Regions from separate parts of the Homo sapiens genome. Here all the other regions are linked to region 4. The links are contacts of gene promoters, found by promoter capture Hi-C in blood cells and fetal thymus (Javierre and others, 2016). All regions are on one chromosome and are shown on one strand. Each heading gives the region's core, a stretch centred on a gene start or on the middle of the fragment in contact. The rest is flanking DNA. Distances are from core to core; before and after follow the strand shown.

Region 1 (2,700 bases), core at 170-2,669, 320 kb before region 4:
AAAATGGTTATAAGAAAAATCTACCTCAAAAAACCCATGAAGTTATAAAAAATAGTATTTAGATAAAAAACATTTTTCAAACACATTACCTTCTTCTCTACCTTAAAAACAAAATGTTTGAGAATGTAATAATACACCTGACAAGCTGCAATCAATGAAATTCTTAACTATTAATGTTATTTGGTGCCTGCATTTTGGGTTAGTCTTTTATTAAAAAAAATTACTCTTTTACAAATAGCGTATTTATAAAAACAAGTTTATTCCTTGTAGGAGAGCTGAGTGGAGAAAGTTCCTTCACCATGTGTAAAAGCATAGATCTGAGTATCAGTAAACTTGGATTCTGGCAAAGCTTTCTGGGGTCCAGTTGCCTCTTTTGTAAAATAAATTGTTGTGATGATTAAATGAGGGGGTACAGGTAGAAGTGCTTTGTGTAGCCGAGACGGGTGGATCACGAGGTCAGGAGATCGAGACCATCCTGGCTAACATGGCGAAACCCCGTCTCTACCAAAAATACAAAAAAATTAGCCAGGCGTGGTGGCGGGCGCCTGTAGTCCCAGCTACTTGGGCGGTTGGGGGGGGGGGGGCGGGCAGAGGCAGGAGAATGGCATGAACCCGGGAGGCAGAGCTTGCAGTGAGCCGAGATCGCGACACTGCACTCCAGCCTGGCGACAGAGCGAGACTCCGTCTCAAAAAAAAAAAAAAAAAAAAAGTGCTTCGTGTATGATGTGGCATGGTTTGACCACCATTAATCATTGCATATTTTGTACACTTCCCTTTATGTGTCTTTCCTTGTCATATTAGGTATATGAGGACATAAATGGTAAGCTTAAAAAGTTAAAACTTCGTAGTGGCGGGCGCCTGTAATCCCAGCTACTTGGGAGGCTGAGGCAGGAAAATTGCTTGAACTCGGGAGGCGGAGGTTGCAGTGAGCCGAGATCGTGACACTGCACTCCAGCCTGGCGACAGAGCGAGACTCCGTCTCAAAAAAAAAAAAAAAAAAAAAGTTAAACTTGGAAAGTAGTCATTAGAAACTAAAAATATGCTTTTTAGTGGTAGGCTTATTTTAAATCACCAAATATTTACATTTTTCAAATTATTTATAATGCTTCTTAATATACTTTTTAGGTATAATTGGTTTCAATGGAATACTTATACTAACATTTAATACAAAACAAAAAAACTAGTTAAGCCAAGGTGCTGTTGGAAAATGACTGTATTAGCCAGTTATGAGAACGTAATTGATAAATTCTTTAATAATTAAAAGTTTGGGTTGCTAAATACAGTTTAAACATACAGATTAATAAACTAAGTAATTCATATTATTACAGAAAGACCCTACTGTCACTTCAGAAAGTATTTGTCTCAAACTTCCCACTCCAGAAATGTTGAATATATTTAACTGAAAGTTAATGCACAACCCAACTGAAAAGTTTACCTCTCAAAAGATCCTACTTGGTAACCAATAATTTGAAAGCTCTGAATTGGTTTACTGTTTCTCCTGTCATAAAAAGGATTCTCTTTGTAATCTGTAATTCTCTTTGTAAAAGCTCTTTTTACAGAAAAAGAACACATATGTTACAGATGGCTCCCAGTAAAGCTGCTATTCAAAGTGTGAAATCCTTTTTTCTTTTTTAACTCACTGTTCTATTCAAAATATGGGTTCTTAATAAATACACCTTGGGAAATAATGTGGCATGACTGGTCAACATTTTTCTTTCTATAAATCAGAGGTATTAATATGGTTTCATTAGCCCTATGTAAACTTTAATCCTCACATAAATTGAGGAACAGAGAGACTGGTTCTTCAAATTCAATGTACAGAATTCCAGTTGCCTGCTTTGAGAAGACTCTTGCAAAAAATAGTTGATACTATGCTTAGTTTAAAAGAAAGGTAATTCCAGTTTATACCTTTTGAATCATCATGAACAAATTCCTGATTCACAGATCAATCAATTTATTTCTGAAAATATGCAAACCTGTGAATTAAATCTGGCTTCTCAAGAATAAAGCTTAAAATTTTCTATTTGTCATTAATTTCTTTCAAGCAATGTTCTTTATGGTACAGAAAAAGCAGTGAAAACATTTAAGATAGGGACAATAGAGAATCTAATTTTAGGGCAGAAAGTAAATAAGATTTTCAAGTAATAATGAGAAAATATTTCTGCTAGGATCAACAATATACACTGGACTAAGACAGGTTAATGGTATGTTTATAAAAATAAATACAAATAAATATTGAATTCTGATATCTAATATCTTTACTGAGGAGAAAAAAATAGCTTTAGGCACTGCTAAATTTTATCCATATGTTCTGGAAAAGAACTTCAACTACATTTCCCTAAGTCTAACAGATATCCAACTGTAAACACAAAGCCCACTGCAAAACATGGGTTGAAAATTAAAGCTGAAGATAATCTTAAATTTGCATAATTGAAGTCTTATGAAATCAAAGCTGGATTCAGAAAACCAGAACTCTCTATTTTGCTTTAAACATCTGAGTGTCTATTAAATAGCAAAAAATGAGTATAGCTCTATGGAACAAATGATACTTGACAAATATTCTGTCAACATTCAGAACACTGATGTTTCTAAATATTCTGCAGCAAAGCAAATAACCTAATAAAAGTCCAACCTTTGAATATATACTTAAATGTAAACTGTCAAAACTATACTCAAATGAATGCAGAGTAAACATTTACG
Region 2 (2,700 bases), core at 89-2,588, 260 kb before region 4:
CAAATATTTGACTTCTTAAACATGATACATGCAAAACTTCAATAAAATCTTAAATTAAATTAGAAACCAAAAAAAAAAAAAGGAATAGATTGAGTCAGGGGAAGATTGAGGAAACAGTTAAGATGATACTATAGTCCTTCAAGAAAAAAGTAATGTTCCCTCAACCAGGGCACTGTCAGTGGATATGGATACGATAGACTCAAGATACTCTGGAGGCAGACAGGACTTCATCAAGAATTGGACTCATGTGATGTAAGCTAAAAACGAAGTCTGCAGAAGTACTAAGATTCCAGGTTTCTGCTTTGAGCAACTGAGATAGGGAATACTGAGGGGAGAGATGACAATTATTTCTACACAGTAGATAAGGAGTGAATGCTGTGGAGATAAAAACTGCCTTTTTAAATCTAAAATTAGATCATATCTTTCAAGCTTGAAATTTCTGAAAGAAATAATGAAATGATAAAAAGCAATTCTATAGCAAAAATAAAAATTTCTGGATATTCAATTAGCCTAGCTATATGATCATTTTATATTATCTCCCTGTAAAAAAAGAAAACATTTAGTAGTAAAAATTATATTCACACAAAAATATTATGACAATGATACTGAAAACATCAAACTGCTAGAAACATTTTTGTTCTTTCCAAAATCACAGCATACATACACAACTACATAAAGATGTCATATTTTAGGATAAAATTCCTAAGATTAAATCCCTAAGTAACTGAATTCGTTTTTAGCCAATTACTATAATTACAAAACTTATATTAATGCTATAATCAAAGTGTCTATCAAATTAAACTTATCAAACCACTCAAAGTAGCCATTTGACAAAGAAGTCAAACTCCATTATAGACCTTTACACAAAAGGCTGATTTCATTTTCCTATTGTTAAGTAATGCTATAATTACAAATAATGAATATCCTTGCACCTCTTCTGACATTTCTGATTATTTCTTAAAAATATAGTCCTACAAGAAATCACGAGGTCAAAGAGTATGAACCTTTTCAAGGCTCTGCTACCTGTCAAACTGCCCTCCTGAAATACTGAATCATTTACACTCCCACGAGAAATGAATGTAAGTTTCACAACACTCTTATCAAAATGAGGTACATAGTTGACCCTTGAACAACATGGGTTTGAACTGTGTGGGTCCACTCATACACAGATTTTTTTCAAAAAATATTTTGGAAATTTTGTCTTGAAGATTTGCAACAATTTGAAAAAACTTGCAGACAAACCACATGGCTTGGAGTATCGAAAAATTAAGAAAAAGCTAGGGATGGCGTGAATGTATAAAATACTAGTCTATTTTATCATTTACTACCATAAAATACACACAAATGTATTTAAAAAAGTTAACATTTATCAAAATTTATGCACACCAACAGACCTTACATGCTGCCATATGCAGTCCAGAGAAATGTAACAAACATAAAGGTGCAATATTAAATCATAACTGCATAAAATTAACCATAGTACATACTGTTCTACTATAATAATTTTGTACCCACCTCGTGTTGCTCTTACAGTGAGTTTAAGTGTAGAGAGTATTCCCTTAAAACACCCTGTGATGACACTACTTATCTCCACATGAGCAGTTCCTATCTCCAGTAAATTGTATTATCACAGTAAAATGTGATTTCTCACGGTTCTCACGTTATTTTTCATCGTGTTTAGTGCAATATCCTAAACCTTGAATAACACCATGGGACCCATAAGAAGCACCACTAGAGATGCTGGAAGTGCTCCTAAGAAGCAAAGAAAAGTCATGACATTTCAAGAACAAGTTGCATTGCTTGATATGTACCATAGACTGAGGTCCTGCTGCCATTTCAGTCAATATATCTTATAAACAGACTATGTAAACTTATGATGTACAATACAGTACTGTAAATGTATTTTTCCTAATAACATTTTCTTTTTTCTAGCTTACTTTAAGAATATATTATATAATATATATAACATACAAACTATGTGTTAATCGACTGTTTATGTTATCAATAAGGCTTCCAGTCAATGGTAGGCTATGAGTAGTTGAGTTTTACCTGCAAATTTTCGACTTCTGGGAGCCTGGTGTTTCTAACTCCAGAGACATTCAAGGGTAAAGTGTAGTTCTGATTATTGTTGTATGAGATAGGCTAGTGATGTAACACTGTTTCATGGGGGAAATGTTTTCTGATACAGAAACTACCATCTTATGAGGTTCAAAAACATTTTCTCTTGTTTTCTAATTATAAGCTTCTTTAGAATGGAGGGCTTCAAACGGAATTTTAACCCAGCTGCTTCCAAAGAATGTGACTACACACCTCTCCCTCCCTCCCTCCCTCCCTTCTACCCATCAAGTCACCTTTTGTTAATTCCTCTGGTGTGGTGTTTATTAGCTCTTGAATTTCTCCAAGATCCATATCTCGAAACTCTTAGCTCCCTACCTTTTTTGCCATATCCACAATCTCTTTCATGATTTCCTTTCAGTCACCTTCCAACAGTTTTCCTCAAGTGACAAAGCATTTTTTCCATTAAATTAATGATGCAGAAATGTTCTAAGAATTGGACGGACTTTCCAAAACCTCTTGGCATTTATTTGAGGAGTCAGAAAAGTATTAAAAAATTTTTTTAATGTAAAAATGAAGCCACAATCCACCATACTTTTGTCTGGCTTCCTTATTTATCACGATAAATTATAATGATGAAACAGG
Region 3 (2,700 bases), core at 1-2,500, 280 kb before region 4:
TACATAACTCTGCTGACTGGTTTTACTTTAAATTCATGATTAAAAAAAAGTCTTAAGTAGATGGATCCTACATAAGGTCTATCAAACCTATTACGTTTTCTTAGTTAACACACTCTCACACTCTCCAGATGACTTTTATATCCTCTCTTCTTTCTTCAAATCTCCAACACCTCTCCCATACCACCTTAACTAAAGACCTTGCTTTTTTATGTCTGAGGAAACAAAACAATCAGAACTTCTAAGAATCCCACCACGAAATCTACCAACTTACCTGCATCTGTAACTAAATGTGTTCCCTTCCCTGCTGTTAAAATGGATAAACTATCTTTTCTTTTTTTTTCTTTTTTTTTGAGACAGAGTCTTGCTCTGTCGCACAGGCTGGAGTGCAGTAGCGCGATCTCGGCTCACTGCAAGCTCCGCCTCCTGGGTTCACGCCATTCTCCTGCCTCAGCCTCCAGAGTAGCTGGGACTACAGGCGCCCATCACCACGTCTGACTAATTTTTTTGTATTTTTAGTAGAGACGGGGTTTCACCGTTTTAGCCAGGATGGTCTGGATCTCCTGACCTTGTGATCCGCCCGACTTGGCCTCCCAAAGTGCTGGAGTTACAGGCATGAGCCACCACTGCACCCGGCGTAAAATGGATAAACTCTTACTGATACACTAGGGTACTAAATCTAATTCTCTTTCATCTCATCAAGCATATCACTGGTATAATTCCTCATTCTCTTGTCATTTTTTTAGTTCTACTAGATTATTGCCACCAACATAAAACATATTGCCATTGATGCCATTTCCAAAAACAAAACAAAATACAACAAATCTTTGGTCCCACATTCCCTTCCAGGTACCATATTTCTCTGCAAACCACACTGCAGCCCTTTACAGTAAAATTCCTCAAAAGCATTCTCTATACTTGCTGTCCCACTTCTTCATCACCATTCTCTCAACTCCAGTCAGTTTTTCACCCCATTCTCTACTGAAATCACTCTTCCCGAGGTCACCAATCCTTTCCAATTGTCAGGTCATCTCAAACTTTGCACCTTATTCAAATTATTAGTAGCATTTGACAAAGGTGATCAATTTTTATTGAAACATTTTCTTTACCTGACTGTGAAAAATGTGTCCTACCCGTAATTTCCTTTGTTGATTTCTCCTCATTTTTCCAATCTCTACTTGGGAATCCTGGAGGTTCCCAGGGCTTTTCATCTATGCTCCCTCCTTAGGTAATCCCATCTAGCTTCAAATAGTTTACATTGATGATTATAACAATCTCTCTCTAGCCCCAACCACTCCCTTAAACTTGTACATCTAAGTCTGACCTTACATTTCACATGGATGTTTACTAGCCAACTCAAACACAGTATGTGTAAAATAGAACCCCAGCCCACAATGGTCCTTCTCTATACCTCTCTGAATATAAGTAAACAGCACCTCCATTATCTGATTCATGCCACCTCTTTGAAATCATCTCCTACCACCGGGTACCTTCCTAGCTTATTCTACTGTCAACACTAACCACTCTGCCATTTGAATGTATCTGGGCCTTTTTACTTGTTATTACCTCTACTTGGAATTCTCTTCTCCCAGATATCCAAATAAATGGTTCCCTCAATTCCTCCAGGTCTCTACTGAACTGTCATTTATCAACAATTCTCTTACCATGTTACATAACACAGTACTGTCCTGCCTTCCTTTCTACTTTTCTTCAGAGCATTTATTGCTATTTATGTCATTTATTTATTTGTAATTTATTCTTCCCCAGCAGAATGTTAGCTGTATGAAAATGGAACTTTGTCTAGATCATTCACTATTAAATGTCAAGCAATTACAGAGTGCATAGCACAGTATGAAATATTTTAAAATACAAACCATCAAAAGTTTTATTCAGATAAATAATGAAGCTGTTACCAAATAAAAATTATTATTTTCCACAAAAATACATAAGGGAGGCAATGAAAATATCTTCAAGGAAAATAAAAATTAACTTCAGCAAAATCTACCTCATTACTAAACCAAATCATAAATAAAAGTATAGGACTGGGCGTAATGGCTCATGCCTGTAATCCCAGCACTTTGAGAGGCTAAGGCGGGAGGATCACTTGAGATCAGGCGTTCGAAAACAGCCTGGACAACACAGTGAGACCCCATCACTATAAAAACTTTTTAAAAAATTAGTTGGGCATGGTGGCATGTGCCTGTAGTCCAGTTACTTGGGAGGCTGAGGCTGGAGGATCCTCTGAGCCCAGGAGTTGGGGGCTGCAGTAAGCTATGATCGTGCTACACTCCAGCCTGGATGCAAAAAATAAAAATAGAATTTTTTTTTCACAGCGTATAATTCTTTTCCCTAAAACTTTAAAGATATAATTCATAACTGTATATTTATAATCATTTCCATTCCTCCATGAAATTCAAATTTTAAGAAAAGACAATAAGGCCATAATTATTAAAAAGAATTTTTAAAGAAAACCCTTCACACCAAGGTTTTTCTATAAAATAGAAAAGAGAAACATAAAAAGGATCACAAGCTTTTCCATACTAATGTTTTTCCAATATAGAAATCTACACTGGTTTTCATGGGAAACATCTGTCTCTTCAGATACTATAAAAAGCAAAAGCAGCACTTTGTTAATTAAAAAGTTATATTTTAGTAATAAAGTTTTAAAAAGTCAGTCATGATTTTAGCCCAGAACCTTAAAAA
Region 4 (2,700 bases), core at 39-2,538:
GGAGAATCGCTTGAACCTGGGAAGCAGAGGTTGCAGTGAGTCGAGATGGCGCCACTGCACTCCAGCCTGGGCCACAGAGCGAGACTCCGTCTCAAACAAACAAACGACAACAACAAAATGCAAACTCTGGCCAGGCGCGGTGGCTCATGCCTGTAATCCCAGCACGTTGGGAGGCCAAGGTGGGCGTATCACTTGAGGTCAGGAGTTCAAGACCAGCCTGGCGAACATGGTGAAACCCCATCTCTACTAAAAATACAAAAATTAGCCAGGTGTGGTGTCATGCACCTGTAGTCCCAGCTACTCAGAAGGCTGAGGCAGGATAATCGCTTGAACCTGGAAGACAGGTTGCGGTGAGCACAGATCGCGCCACTGCACCCCAACCTGAGCGACAGAACAAGACTTCATAAAAAAAAAAAAAACCCCACGCAGATTGCAGATTCCTGGGCCCCATCTTCGCCTTTCTGAATTGCAGCCTTTCACCCTTTAAGAATGAGAGGGTGAAATCTGCACGTCATACAAATAGCCCAGGGGCTATTAATCTGATGTTGCTCCCCAGCTCCCTCCAACACCGTCAGAGGGTGCACGGATTAGGCCTCTGCTGCGTGCAGAGAAGCATCCTAGGTGCTGCGTGGCTGTGCCAAAGCAGCAGAAACCGGTGGTGTGCCTTAAGATGCATGCTCCAAAGCTGTCCACAAGGCCTCTGGTACAGGCTTCCAGGTCTACGTCTCGGCTTCCCCGACAGTGTCCATGCGACACTGTCACCAGTTTCTCCTCTCACAAGCAGAAAATCAAATTCGGATTGGGCAAATGATTCCCTGCCCGGGTGTGGAATAAGGGTCAAGTCCTAAGTATGGAGAGAGAGCGCCGGCTCCCGCCAGGATATGCGAAGCTCTGGAGGGGAGGCCAAGCCACCAGGCACCCGGCGGGAGAAGAGGAGGCTGGAGAGCGCCGCCCAGTGCCTGCAGGCCGGGCGCTCCACGCCTCCCCTCCCTCCTGCACACCCCATTCCCCTCCGGTTGCCCCGCCTGGGAAGCCCCCTCCCCACACCTCCCGGCCCAGCATCTGCACGAGAGCCGCGAGCCCTGGCCCAGAGCTCTGGGTGGGCCTCTCACCCCAGACGGCGGCCGCAGCCCGTCCCTGATCACCGGCCGCCTGAGCCCTCCGTTCGCTCGGCGCGAGCGCCGCCACCCGTCCTTACCCCCATCCAGTCCGAGGCCAGCCCCGTAGGCTCCGAGCCTGCTCCGTGAAAAGCCTTTTCCCCAGGAGGAGAGTTACTGTAAAGCAAGAGGAAGCCGAGAAGAGGCGGTGGCTGCAGCGCGCGGGGCCCGGCGGGGGCGCGGGGGCGTCGGGGTACTGACTGGGCAGCGCGGTTTCCCCTCATCCCGGGACACGGTGCGGCGCTAGCGCCACCCAGCGGGCGCGGTGGGAATTGCGCTCCCTTCCTGCGCTGGGGCTCTGGACACACAGGCGACCAAGAATGACGCCTGCAGCCGGATAAACGCTCGGGGCAAGGCCGCTATCATCCCTCTGCCGGGAGTGAGTCAAGTCTCAGCAAAAGAAGAAGCCACTTTGGCCAAAATTCCAAGAGTGCTGATGAAGACGGTGACATCTGACATTTCAATGGCACTTTCCATTTCCCCCGGGGTGCGCATTCCGGGCCAGTGGAGCGCTGCGTCGCCTGTGCAGGACCTGGAGGTCTGCAGGACTGTGACCAGTCGGAGTCTCGGAGTCGTGGGTTAAACATTAGTCGGGAGCACTCGTTCATTCCCTGAGCTCCCCTTGCCCTTCACCCTTCGGTCCCGGAAGCCGGAAGGGAGACTGCCCCGCCCCTTGCCTGCCGCCCAGTGGCTCTCCCGGGGCCCTCTTGGCCCCTCTCTCCCAGCCCTCCATACAGTGAAGGGTTGTTTCCGCTGGTGACTTCCACCTGTGGGAGCAGAGAAAGGAAGCGGGGCAGAGGAGAAGGGGAAGGTGTCAGGCGATTCCCCTCCTTGCGCTGCAAGCCGGGTGGGAATAGAACACCTGCAGCCCTCCCCGGCGCCCTGCGAATGAGGTGGGAGTGGGAACGCCATCAGGGCAGAGCCCCTCCAGCTGGCTGGGGTCTGCACCTCCTCGCCAGCCCGGCCACCTCAAAACGGTGCTTGCCTCCCTGCGGGGGTGTAGAAGCCTCTTGGAGCAGCACTTGTAGAAAATCAAGTCCCTGGAAAGAAGCAAAATTAATCCGTTTGTTTCTCTATTTATTTTTGCTTCCCCACACCAGGTATTCACTTCATCCAAGGCTGCCCAATGTCACCTTCCACCCAGAGGAATCTCCCCTCTCCACCCCAGGCCAACAGCCTCTGCCTTCAGCTGTGGCCTCCACTCTGGCATTACTCTGGGCAGAGGGCTCAGGAGGGCTCAAGGAGGACCAGTGACATTCAGAGTGGCCAGAGTAAAGGGAGGGAGGGGGAGTGGTGGGAGAGGCGTGCAGAAGGCACAGGTGAGGTGGCGGAGGGGGGCAGGTGGTGGGGGGAGCGGGCTGGGGTGGGATGGGCCTGTCAGCATAGCAAGGGCTGTGATGGGCTTGAGTCTGACAGGGGGCAATGACCTGACCTACGGTTTTGTAAGATCACTCTGGCTGCCACCTGGAGAGCTGGTGTGGGGATGATGGCCATGGTAGACACAAGGGGAGCAGTTAGGAGACCACCACAAGTGACCATGCGG
Region 5 (2,700 bases), core at 42-2,541, 300 kb before region 4:
CCTTTTAATTGTTCTTAGGGCAACTTCTATCAAATGTACAGCATTTATAAATGCTGAAGTTTTTGTCAACTGTACTAAGCCTCCCTTCACATGAATAGAAAAGGATTCTGAATCAAAACCATGTATGTTTTAATAGATTAAATACATTTAATCTAACGGTTTGCTATAAGGCAAAGCAGTCATTACATTAAAAGGATGATTTTCATACTGGAAACGAACTAAACTGAGTCATAAAAACTCATCTGACAAATGTTTCATTTTCCTTTCCCATGTCTACCAAATATTTATGCCCAGGAGTCCACAATAATCTCACAATCAAGATGCTTCTTCACATACCCAGATAGGGATGAACTATATGAAGAATACCAGTATCTAAAATTATGCAGATGCTATAGTGTATGTTCTTAATTTCCTTCTGTTTTTTTTTCCCTTTTTGGTTTCTTTCTTTCTTTTTTTTTTTTTAATTATACTTTAAGTTTTAGGGTACATGTACACAATGTGCAGGTTTGTTACATATGTATACATGCGCCATGTTGGTGCACTGCACCCACTAACTCGTCATCTAGCATTAGGTATATCTCCCAATGCTATCCCTCCCCCCTCCCCCCACCCCACCACAGTCCCCAGAGTGTGATATTCCCCTTCCTGTGTCCATGTGATCTCATTGTTCAGTTCCCACCTATGAGTGAGAATATGTGGTGTTTGGTTTTTTGATCTTGCGATAGTTTACTGAGAATGATGATTTCCAATTTCATCCATGTCCCTACAAAGGACATGAACTCATCATTTTTTATGGCTGCATAGTATTCCATGGTGTATATGTGCCACATTTTCTTAATCCAGTCTATCATTGTTGGACATTTGGGTTGGTTCCAAGTCTTTGCTATTGTGAATAATGCCGCAATAAACATACGTGTGCATGTGTCTTTATAGCAGCATGATTTATAGTCATTTGGGTATATACCCAGTAATGGGATGGCTGGGTCAAATGGTAATTCTAGTTCTAGATCCCTGAGGAATCGCCACACTGACTTCCACAATGGTTGAACTAGTTTACAGTCCCACCAACAGTGTAAAACTGTTCCTATTTCTCCACATCCTCTCCAGCACCTGTCGTTTCCTGACTTTTTAATGATTGCCATTCTAACTGGTGTGAGATGGTATCTCATAGTGGTTTTGATTTGCATTTCTCTGATGGCCAGTGATGGTGAGCATTTTTTCATGTGTTTTTTGGCTGCATAAATGTCTTCTTTTGAGAAGTGTCTGTTCATGTCCTTCGCCCACTTTTTGATGGGGTTGTTTGTTTTTTTCTTGTAAATTTGTTTGAGTTCACTGTAGATTCTGGATATTAGCCCTTTGTCAGATGAGTAGGTTGCAAAAATTTTCTCCCATTTTGTAGGTTGCCTGTTCACTCTGATGGTAGTTTCTTTTGCTGTGCAGAAGCTCTTTAGTTTAATTAGATCCCATTTGTCAATTTTGTCTTTTGTTGCCATTGCTTTTGGTGTTTTGGACATGAAGTCCTTGCCCATGCCTATGTCCTGAATGGTGATGCCTAGGTTTTCTTCTAGGGTTTTTATGGTTTTAGGTCTAACGTTTAAATCTTTAATCCATCTTGAATTGATTTTTGTATAAGGTGTAAGGAAGGGATCCAGTTTCAGCTTCCTACATATGGCTAGCCAGTTTTCCCAGCACCATTTATTAAATAGGGAATCCTTTCCCCATTGCTTGTTTTTCTCAGGTTTGTCAAAGATCAGATAGCTGTAGGTATGCGGCGTTATTTCTGAGGGCTCTGTTCTGTTCCATTGATCTATATCTCTGTTTTGGTACCAGTACCATGCTGTTTTGGTTACTGTAGCCTTGTAGTATAGTTTGAAGTCAGGTAGTGTGATTCCTCCAGCTTTGTTCTTTTGGCTTAGGATTGACTTGGCAATGCGGGCTCTTTTTTGGTTCCATATGAACTTTAAAGTAGTTTTTTCCAATTCTGTGAAGAAAGTCATTGGTAGCTTGATGGGGATGGCATTGAATCTGTAAATTACCTTGGGCAGTATGGCCATTTTCACGATATTGATTCTTCCTACCCATGAGCATGGAATGTTCTTCCATTTGTTTGTATCCTCTTTTATTTCCTTGAGCAGTGGTTTGTAGTTCTCCTTGAAGAGGTGCTTCACATCCCTTGTAAGTTGGATTCCTAGGTATTTTATTCTCTTTGAAGCAATTGTGAATGGGAGTTCACTCATGATTTGGCTCTCTGTTTGTCTGTTGTTGGTGTATAAGAATGCTTGTGATTTTTGTACATTGATTTTGTATCCTGAGACTTTGCTGAAGTTGCTTATCAGCTTAAGGAGATTTTGGGCTGAGACAATGGGGTTTTCTAGATATACAATCATGTCGTCTGCAAACAGGGACAATTTGACTTCCTCTTTTCCTAATTGAATACCCTTTATTTCCTTCTCCTGTCTAATTGCCCTGGCCAGAACTTCCAACACTATGTTGAATAGGAGTGGTGAGAGAGGGCATCCCTGTCTTGTGCCAGTTTTCAAAGGGAATGCTTCCAGTTTTTGCCCATTCAGTATGATATTGGCTGTGGGTTTGTCATAGATAGCTCTTATTATTTTGAAATACGTCCCATCAATACCTAATTTATTGGGAGTTTTTAGCATGAAGGGTTGTTGAATTTTGTCAAAGGCTTTTTCTGCATCT

What was found. Contacts are between HindIII fragments. The CHiCAGO score rates a contact against its expected background, and 5 or more counts as called.
Region 1: a contact is called between a fragment that was not itself captured here and the fragment with the promoter of C1orf220 in region 4, in 2 of 17 cell types (total B cells and naive B cells). The highest score is 14.5, in total B cells.
Region 2: a contact is called between a fragment that was not itself captured here and the fragment with the promoter of C1orf220 in region 4, in 3 of 17 cell types (total B cells, naive B cells and monocytes). The highest score is 30.8, in total B cells.
Region 3: a fragment that was not itself captured here is called in contact with the fragment with the promoter of C1orf220 in region 4 in 2 of 17 cell types (total B cells and naive B cells); the score reaches 26.1 in total B cells.
Region 5: a fragment that was not itself captured here is called in contact with the fragment with the promoter of C1orf220 in region 4 in 2 of 17 cell types (naive B cells and total B cells); the score reaches 13.9 in naive B cells.

Annotation. Positions count from the first base shown.
Region 1 is chr1:178,857,705-178,860,404 of GRCh38, reverse strand. The region is part of intron 8 of RALGPS2 (Ral GEF with PH domain and SH3 binding motif 2); the gene reads right to left. All of the region lies in intron 3 of ANGPTL1 (angiopoietin like 1), which reads left to right. Among named protein-coding and RNA genes, the nearest start is that of ANGPTL1, 12 kb to the left of the region's middle. The HindIII fragment of the contact is 1,184 bases long and covers 828-2,011 here.
Region 2 is chr1:178,801,451-178,804,150 of GRCh38, reverse strand. The region is part of intron 4 of RALGPS2 (Ral GEF with PH domain and SH3 binding motif 2); the gene reads right to left. LOC124904462 (a long non-coding RNA gene) reads left to right here. Exons shown (of 3, transcript XR_007066749.1): 2 at 970-1,079. Among named protein-coding and RNA genes, the nearest start is that of ANGPTL1, 68 kb to the left of the region's middle. The HindIII fragment of the contact is 1,813 bases long and covers 432-2,244 here.
Region 3 is chr1:178,822,459-178,825,158 of GRCh38, reverse strand. All of the region lies in intron 7 of RALGPS2 (Ral GEF with PH domain and SH3 binding motif 2), which reads right to left. Among named protein-coding and RNA genes, the nearest start is that of ANGPTL1, 47 kb to the left of the region's middle. The HindIII fragment of the contact is 2,559 bases long and covers 1-2,529 here.
Region 4 is chr1:178,541,384-178,544,083 of GRCh38, reverse strand. It overlaps C1orf220 (chromosome 1 putative open reading frame 220), which reads right to left and starts at 1,288. Exons shown (of 3, transcript NR_033186.1): 1 at 1,199-1,288. LOC124904460 (a long non-coding RNA gene) reads left to right here and starts at 1,439. Exons shown (of 2, transcript XR_007066748.1): 1 at 1,439-2,050; 2 at 2,258-2,700. RefSeq lists silencers at 1,054-1,123, 1,154-1,483 and an enhancer at 1,534-1,593. The HindIII fragment of the contact is 17,585 bases long and covers 1-2,700 here.
Region 5 is chr1:178,841,417-178,844,116 of GRCh38, reverse strand. The region is part of intron 8 of RALGPS2 (Ral GEF with PH domain and SH3 binding motif 2); the gene reads right to left. Among named protein-coding and RNA genes, the nearest start is that of ANGPTL1, 28 kb to the left of the region's middle. The HindIII fragment of the contact is 3,073 bases long and covers 1-2,700 here.